Regions from separate parts of the Homo sapiens genome. Here region 2 is linked to region 1. Evidence: promoter capture Hi-C in 16 types of primary human blood cells and fetal thymus (Javierre and others, 2016). All regions are on one chromosome and are shown on one strand. The core of a region is centred on a gene start or on the middle of the fragment in contact, and the rest is flanking DNA. Distances in the headings are between cores, read along the strand shown.

Region 1 (4,503 bases), core at 972-3,471:
CTCCATAAATGCAGACATGGCATGTCACGGGTGTGCTCTAAATGTTCACTGAGTAAATGAACAAGTGATCAAACATCAAAGCTGTTCCTCTAGAGCACTGGCTCTCAACCGGAGGTGACTTTTGTCCCCCAGGTAACATCTGACAATGTCTGGGAACTTGTGTTTCCTGTCAGGGCCAGGGTTTTTTTCGTAATTGTCAGGGCCGGGGGTGCCCCTGACATGCAGCGGGTAAAGGCCAGAGACGCTGCTAAACATTCTACAGTGCACAGGACAGACTCCACAGCAACCAAAATGTAGCCCCAAATGCGAATAGTGGTGAGGTTGAGAAATCCTGTCTAGGGCATGCGGCCAGCTGCTGTATCAAAGGGGTAACTTGAGCCCAGGGAACCAGCTGCAAAATGCTCTTTCTCTTTCCCCTCTCAATTCAGGAGGCCTCATAATTCAGAGCATAAATCTGGATTTAGACCAAATGTAATTTCAGTCATATATCTCTGATGGCAGATCGTTTCCCATGATAATACAGGAATGAGACAGTACTTACCGGCTCGGTGTTAGGCCCATGGTGCTTGATTGCTTGATAATCATTATTGTTATCATGGGCTTATCTTTTAGAATATGGATTGCTTTCTACTAGATATTGGAGGGTTTTCCTATGCATTTCTCCCCTATTAAGCCGAAAACTCCTCAAAGGCCCCACCCCATGTAAATTCCCTGGGTACCCCTCATCTCTAGGGTGTTTGGCAGAGCACCAGCTCACAGTAGGCACTCAGTAAACACAGGACTCTATAAGCTCCATCTTCCTGAGTCTCAGAGTGCAGGGAAGGCCTGCAAACGGGATCACACAGGGAGTATGGCAAGTGTGGCCCCAGTCTCAGCCTAGAAGAGGAACCCCTCTGTCCCATGTCCTCTTCCTGCGCCCTTTCCTATCCCCTCTTCACCCACAGAGGACACACAGCAGTGTTGCAACTCACTTGTGCTCAGAGCACCACCATGCCATCCCTTGGGGGAAGGGAGAGGGCCACTGATTAACTCAGAAAGGGCACAGCTCATCAGGAAAGACACTGCCACTAACAGCCCCAGGGGTCAAGCAAACAAACCTCAAATGGGAGGGGGGGCTGATCCACAGGTGGGCAGCCCCACCAGACTAGGAACCCCTCTGGGGCAGGGTCTGTGTCCCACCTACCTCTCCAAACCTAGCTCCGAGCTGGAGGGGCTCTGAGAATATTTGTCATTGAGTGGGCAAGGGTCCAGGCACCTGGCTCCACAATGTCAGGTTTGCAAATCGGGATTTGAAGGGCAGGTCCACCCCTGAACTGCTCCTGGGTTTCTTCATTATTTGGAATAATGACCTGCCTCACAGGAGTGAGAAGTTTAAATAGAGGTGATAATGATGATGATCGTGGCAATAATAATAACCGGGCGCTGCCTTTGTGCTGGGCACTGTTCAGTGCACTCCCCATGTATTAACTCATTTAATCCTCATAAGACACCTGCCAATTGCCCGGCCAGCATTTGGTTCATTATAAGCACTCTATAAATATGATTATTCCACCTACAAGAAGAAAGGAATCCTTTTTTCTGTCCAACATTTAACTTGAAAAAAAAAAAAAAAAACGGGCGGCGGGGTGTGTGGGGAGCGGAAAAGAGAGAGGTAGAAATCCTGGTAGAAGGAGAGGACTCGGGGAATCCGGGGCGGGATGGGGACACTGAACGTGAGACGAGGGTGGGGAAGTGAGATGTGTGGTGTGCTAAAAATAGAAGGGCCCCTCAGGGGAAGCCAGCAAATTGCGAAGATCCAGTATTAGGAGTGAGGTGAGTGACTACAGAGGCTACTTTCCGAGCGTGGGAACCGGCAGGGCCACCGAGGCACCCTACTCGGTCGCAGGATTCGGGAAGAGGGGTCCCCTCGCTAAAGGAAGGTGACTACCTGAGGGAGGAGGCTAAGGGATCTCAGTGGGAGAAAGGCCTGGGTGGGGGTCGGAGGGGAGCCCCTGAGGAACCCGGCGTTGACCGAGGCAGCTTGGGGGTCCGGCAGGGAGGGAGTGCGGCGCGGGGGACGCCCAGTGACTCTCAGGCTCCCGGGCCCCAGGCGCGCGCTCGGGCCGCCCCGGGCCCCGTGCTCACTCACCCGGCCCCGGTCCAGGGGCGGGACAGCAGGGCGCGGCGGAGCGCGGGCGCCGGCAGCAGCATCTCGGGTTAGAAGCGGGGCTGTTCGCTGGATCGTCCGCCCGGGCGCGGCGAGAATGCACAACCCCGTCCAGAGCGCACCACCTCGATCCTCGGGGGGAAACGGATCACCCCGGCTGTCCTCCGAGCTCGGGATCAGCCAAAGTCCCACTATATTTAGCTTCGGCTAATAAAAAATATTTCTAGTGCCATAACGGGGGCATTACACAACACAGGACAAGGGAACCCGAAAGCGAAGTCCTGAAATGCATGCGTTTTCCCCTCCTCTCTTTATGGTATGACCCGGGAGAGAGGGCGTGAACTCTGTCGACCAGTCAGAGTGACACACCAAAGCTTCTGAACCAATCAGCGGGGCGGTCCTGCGGCAGCCTTCCAAAGCGGAGCAGAGAGGGGCTGAATAGAGCCAATGAGATAACCGAAATGGGACACGTGCTGAAGCGGGGCAGAAGGACTCGCTGCGTCCGGCCCTCTGGCGTGCGCCCCGGGTTCGATGGGAGTCCGACTGACTTCTCTCGGGCTGCCGGTGGCTTGTACAAGGCTGGAAACCTGTCCGCTACCAGACTCCTCGACCCCGCAGGGCCACAGCGCGGCCAGCCCCCTGCTTCTTCCCGGGGGCTGCGGCCCCTGGAATGAGCCTGCCTTCCAGCTTCTTGGCCAGGACCCAGCCGCTCTCCACCTACCCTCCAGGCGCGGGGCCGGCCAGCTTCTTAGCTTCCTTGCAGATTACGATCAATGCAAGATAAAACCTGAGCTGGCCAACGCTTAGCTTTTCATTTAAAGCCTTTGGCCGCAAAACCAGTTGTTCCTGAGCCTTTTACCCCCAAGTAAAAATTTCAGCTTTCTTTGCAAAATGTTGTGTGCTTGGTAAACACTAGAATGCTATTTAAAACTTGGATTCTGAAGTCTTCTCTGATGACGAGGTCTCAGGGACCCAATCTATTCCTAAAGTAATGTTACGTTTCCTTACTCTCTGTTCTAATTTGTTTATATTTCTTCCAGCAGCATGAACCGCGCACCTGCTTAGGAGTCAGTTCCCATGCTGATTTTGGTTCCTCAAGCAGGGCACTAGGCAGACTACATATCCTTTCCGGGCCTCAGTTTCCTCATCTGTAAAACGGAAGTAATAGTACCCAACTCACAAAGCCCCCGTGATCTTAAGCCACTTATTTTTCTCCAGATTACACCATTTGAGGTACTTTGGGAGAATGTAAACATTTAAATGAAGAGTAGGAGAGGGAGATTACCTAAATGCCAAGTATTAGGAATGGCAAAAAGCAAATTGGAATTGGTGGCGGCTATTTGTCTTCACCTTTGGAGAAAACCCTAGACAGGTGGGCTCAGTTCACATTTGGGCAATGTTGCCCTGAACATGCCCATTGACAAGAAAAACTAGAACATTGGTTACTGTCAAATCCAGAGCCTGGGAAGGTGACCTCCTGTGGGCACGTTGGAGAGCCTGGAAAAATGGGGGCTTTGTGGTTAAAAGGACATCAGTTCCAAACCAGGCCAAGCCAGTTACTGAGCCTGTGATGTCTCATGTCCTCTCTTCCCCTTCAGTAAAATGTGTGTAATGATTCCTGCTTTGTCATCTTCCAAAGCTTTTATTGTGAGCTACAAATGTAACAGGTGATATGAAATCCCCTATTTTATGGCTAATTAACTAATGAGTTTGAGGGTTTCTGTGGCCTTCCGTCCTCCTACCCCTCCCCCAACACCAGATTCATCTTCTGTTTAAAAACAAAAACAAAAAAAAGCACCATCAGTTCTAAGACATTTCACTTTATTTAAAAGAAGCCAATATACAGGATATAAAGGGCATGATATTTACAACAGTACAGTAAACAGGTTGGTTTCCGGTAGGATCAGTAGTCTTTCCATGAGTATAAATCCCCCCCTTCCCTGTGATGCTAGACCCAGCTGGCAGACAACAGCAACGGTGGGGCAGGATCATGGGGTATAAAGTCTCCCTGGGTGGGGCTAAAAATCAGGTAGATGCAAAAACATCCACAAGGGGTCTTGCAGGGAAGGGCTTTGCCTCATTTCTTTGAGGGCTTGGGAGGGAAGGGTCTTGGTGAGGGATTTGCTCAGAACTAACACACAGCCCACCCTGAGCCTGGAAATCATCCATTCATAGAAAATTCCCTTCCAGAGAGAATCTGGCTTTACCTGCACCCACCCAGTCCCCTCCAGACTCCCCACTCCAGGAGAGAGCTCTTCTAGAGCCAGAGCTTGGTGTCTCAAGGGGGAAGACCCCTGTCCTAGGAAACCCCCAGCACCCTGATCCCTCCCCCCAGGGCCCTGGGGGGAACATAGCAA
Region 2 (4,503 bases), core at 701-3,200, 72 kb after region 1:
CCCAGCATTTTGGAAGGCTGAGGCAGGAGGATAGCTTGAGGCCTGGGGTTCAAGACCAGCCTAGGCAACATAGCAAGACACCATTGCTACAAACAATTTAAAAATTAGTTGGGCATGGTGGAGTACATCTGTGGTCCCAGCTACCTGGGAGGCTGAGGTGGGAGGATCACTTGAGCCCAGGAGGTTGAGGTTACAGTGAGTTATGAGCACACCACACACTTCAGCTTGGGTGACACAACAAGACCCTGTCTCTAAAAATAATAATATTTTGTGGTAGTGACAAATATATGAAGTTCAAATTTCAGGGTCCATAAATAAAGTTTAATTGGCATACATCCAGGTTCATTAGTTTACTTCTTGTGTAAGGCTTCTTTCCTGCTACAATGGCACAGTTGAGTAGTTGCAACAGACAATGGGCTGCAAAGTCTAAAATATTTATTATTTAATCCTTTATGGAAAGAGTTTGCCACCTCCTGGTGGAGGTGGTTAGCTAATATGGCAAAGATCTTGGTGATATGGCAAAGATCCAGTGAACTCGTCACTGAAACTCTGGGAGATTGTCATCATTTATTTCCACCCAGTTTATAGGTGAGGAGGAAACTAAGGCTCAGCGAGGTTCAGTGGCTTCCCCAAGGTCACACAGCTAGTCAGCAGCAAGCAGGGATTTGAAATCAAGTTAGATTTGAAAGGGGCAGGAGGATACACAGGGCTAAAAATAACATATGCTTTACTGAGCTTTCTTTCCACAACTCACACCCGCTCCGTTCTGCATGTCCCCCACACACTTCCCACTATCTCTCTTTTTTATTTTTATTTTTTATTTTTATTTTTTAAGAGATGATATCTCTCTATGTTGTCCAGGCTGGATTTGAAGTCCTAGGCTCAAGAGATGCTGCCGCCTCATCCTCTCGAGTAGCTGGGACTGCAGCCCTTCCTCTTCTGCCCTCACTCTATGGGAGGAAGCCGTGGATTCATCATCATTTCCTAATAATGTGGCTCGTCTCCTCAAGCTCAGGACAGGCCCCTGGGGAGGGAACTGTGTCTTATACAAAGTTCACACACTTTAGCAGGACAGGAGAGGTCCTCTGCGGCTTGAGCCTGGTCTCCAGCCTCACCTCACCTCTCCCTTGCTTATGTTTGATGCTCCAGCGATCCTGAATTGTAACTCCCAAACCCGTCCCCAAGTAATATCACTACCAGTTACAACTTCCCCAGCCTAATGTGCTAGCTCAGGATTCTACCTTTACACAGGCTGTTCCTTCTGCTGAAAACCCTCCCTGCCTCTTTTATACCTAACTCCTATTCATTTTTCAAAGCCTCAATCAGGCATCAGTATGGAAACCACTGTGTTCTCCAGTCTCACTCCCAACAGAGGAGATCTGTCCCCCGTGCTGCCTCCGTGCCTCCTGTTATTGATAAGACCGTAGAACGGGCAGCTTAGACTGCAAGTTCTGGAGCCAAACAGCCTGGGTTCCAGTCTGGCTCCTCCTAGTTCTAACTGTGTGTTCTTAGACAAGTGACTGAGCCTCTCTTTGCCTCAGCTGCTTCATCTGTAAAATGGGTGCAGTGACAGTAGATTGTGCCTGGCATCAGTGTTAGGATTGAATAACACCCGTGAAACCCCTGCACATAGTAAGTGCTCGATAAATTTTTGCTGTTATACTGCACTGTATTTGCAGTTGTCAGTTTCTTTCCCCTCCCACACACCCTGGAGTTGATCGATCAGGGGTTCTGTGGGACTGGAGACTGGCTCTTGCCTAAGGGGACAACTCCCCAGTGCCTAATGCAGTGTCAGATATGGGATAGATACTCAGTAAAGGTGAGTTCCCTCCCATCTTTTTCCTCCTCACCTCCACCCTACCCCTGCTCCCAGCTGAATCAAGCAAACTGAGCACAAGCAAACTTGTACTAGCCTGCCCAAGTACAAGTCTGCTTTCTCACGGGGGTCCCAGGGCCATGCCAGGAGCTGCCCCTGCGGTGTCCCTTCCAGCCCCTTGAAAATCAGAGGACAGGCCGGACGCCATGGCTCACGTCTGTAATCCTAGCACTTTGGGAGGTCGAGGCAGGTGGATCACTTGAGGTCAGAAGTTTGAGACCAGCCTGGCCAATATGGTAAAACCCCGTCGTACTAAAAATACAACAACAACAAAAAAAAATAGCCAGGCATGGTAGTGGGTCCCTGTAATCCCAGCTGCTCGGAAGGCTCAGGCAAGAGAATCGCTTCAACCTGGAAGGCAGAGGTGGTGGTGAGCCAAGATCATGCCACTGCACTCCAGCCGGAGCGTCAGAGAGAGACTCCATCTCAAAAAATAAAAAAAAAATAAAATAAAAAGAAAGGAAAGAAAGAAAGAGAGAGAGAGAGGAAGGAAGGGAAGGAAATCAGAGAAGAGTACCCTATAAACACTGGTTTATGAGCCAGGAAACAGACTAAGAGGCTTGCCTTGTTCCTGAGTCAGTGGGACCTCAAACAAGGCCACAGCAGCGTCCTTGTTCCTGGTCCAGCCCCAGCCTCTCTCCTGTGAGTGGGCTTCCCTGCTAAACATAAATCTGTTAAAAAAAAAAAAAAAAAACCCAGCCAAAGACATGCCTGAATGGTGTCCTCGCAGCTGGGCTGGGGGCCAAGGTAGCAGGAGGCAGAGCAAGGCCGAGCCTCCCCAGTCAAACCAGAGTCCCCATCCGTCTAAATGGAAAGGAGGTGGGTCAGCTGCAAAACAGGCCTGAAAGCCCGGGTATAACACCATAGCGAAGAGCTCCGGCCCTGGGTTCAAATGTGAACCTCACAACTTAATAGCTGTATAACCTTGGGCAAGGCACTTCACCTCTCTGAGCTTCAGTAAAATGGGAATAGTAGCATCCTGTCTCACAGAGTGGCCATGAGGATGAACAAGCACTGGAAAGTGCTTTGCACACAGAGCCAGGCACAAAGTACTGTCATCCGCCCTTCCCTGTAGCTTCACCTTCCGCAGTTTTGGTTACCCCTGGTCAACAGTGGCCTGAACACAGGTGAATATGTACAGCACAATAAGAGTTGTTGAGGGAACGAGAAAGATCACATTTACGTAACTTTTATCACAGGATACGGTTATAATTATTCTCTTTTACTTTTACTGTTGTTAATATCTTACTGTGCCTAACTTATAAATTAAACTTTATCATAGGTATGTATGTATAGAAAAAAACACAGTATATATAGGGTTTAGTACTATCTGCAGTTTCAGGCATCCACTGGGGGTCTTGGAATGTAGCCCTCTCAGATAAGGGGGACAATTGTAAGTCTTTACTTCACCCAGCTCTTTTATTTATTTATCTATTTATTTATTGGGAAAAGATCTCTCTCTGTCTCTCAGGCTGGAGTACAGTGGTGTGATCACGGCTCACTACAGCCTCGACCTCCCGGACTCAAGCTATCCTCCCACCTCAGCCTCCCCAGTAGCTGGGACTACAGGCTCACGCTACCACGCCAGGCTAATTTTTGTATTTTTTGTAGAGATAGAGTTTTGCCATGTTGCCCAGGCTGGTCTCAAACTCCCAGGCTCAAGCAATCTGCCTGCCTCAGCCTCCCAAAGTGCTAGGATTACAGGCATGAGCCAACGCACCCAGCCAAACCGGCCCTTATCCTCAGTGTAGGCACTTCCAGTGACTCACGGGAATCCTTGGGACCCCGTCTTTCCTTCTCCAGGCCTCAGCTCCTTCAGCGTAAGTCATTCCTTATATTCACCTCCTCAGGGTGGAGAATAGAAAGACCAGGCTTGTGGGGCACACTGGGAACAAGATGTGGATGGGCCAGCAGGGGTCATGAGACTCATCTGGCCCCCATAGGACCATAATCACAACTAGTGCTTGGGAGCACTGCCTAAGCCAGGGTGCCCCCAAAAGCTGATCTGATACAAGGCTTCGTGTACCTGAATATGTCGCTTACTGGGGTGAGAAGTTTGAGGTCAGAAGTTTGAGACCAGCCTGGCCAATATGGTGAAACCCCCCAATATGGTGAAACTGGGGAGGTGATCCCAGGATGAGGAAGTGAGACAGAAAAAGGAAGGCAGACAGCCACCTCCGCGGACAGCTAGTGTTCATTCCTTCCCAATGGGGGGATCCTGGGAGCCACTGGAGAACATGAGCCGAGGGATCTGGGGTCTTCGTACACCAACTCCCGTTTGCCACTTTACAGAGGGCTGCTATCTACATATGTGATGGAGGAGTGTTAATTCCCCATCACTTTATACCTGCGGAGGCAGCATGAAAAAATCCCAGGCAAAAGGTGGAAGGGGCTGGCAGCTGGAAATGGGGTGTGTGCTGTTGCCAATGAGGGTGAGGGACAGTGGAGGCACCCACTGCACCTGCTACAAGCTCCTACTGTGTTCCAGGCACTCAGGCACCATCCACATGATTTCTCACTTAATCCCCCCAACAACCTTGAAAGATGGGCATCACTATCTCCTTTCTTTTTATTTATTTATTTATTTTTTCTTATTTTTTTTCTCTCCTCTCTTTTTAAAGCAGCTT

The links. The method cuts DNA at HindIII sites, captures the fragments that hold promoters and counts their contacts. A CHiCAGO score of 5 or more calls a contact.
Region 2: a fragment that was not itself captured here is called in contact with the fragment with the promoter of ALDH4A1 in region 1 in 4 of 17 cell types (naive CD4 T cells, naive CD8 T cells, total CD8 T cells and 1 more); the score reaches 5.9 in naive CD4 T cells.

What each region holds. Positions count from the first base shown.
Region 1 is chr1:18,900,334-18,904,836 of GRCh38, forward strand. It overlaps ALDH4A1 (aldehyde dehydrogenase 4 family member A1), which reads right to left and starts at 2,222. Exons shown (of 15, transcript NM_003748.4): 1 at 2,129-2,222. The coding sequence starts at 2,190. It overlaps LOC124903866 (a long non-coding RNA gene), which reads left to right and starts at 1,780. Exons shown (of 2, transcript XR_007065519.1): 1 at 1,780-1,919; 2 at 2,477-3,038. IFFO2 (intermediate filament family orphan 2) reads right to left here. Exons shown (of 9, transcript NM_001136265.2): 9 at 3,947-4,503. RefSeq lists a silencer at 1,989-2,208 and enhancers at 2,289-2,518, 2,458-3,275. The HindIII fragment of the contact is 9,883 bases long and covers 1-2,518 here.
Region 2 is chr1:18,972,209-18,976,711 of GRCh38, forward strand. The region is part of intron 2 of LOC105376815 (a long non-coding RNA gene); the gene reads right to left. Among named protein-coding and RNA genes, the nearest start is that of IFFO2, 18 kb to the left of the region's middle. The HindIII fragment of the contact is 6,746 bases long and covers 1-4,503 here.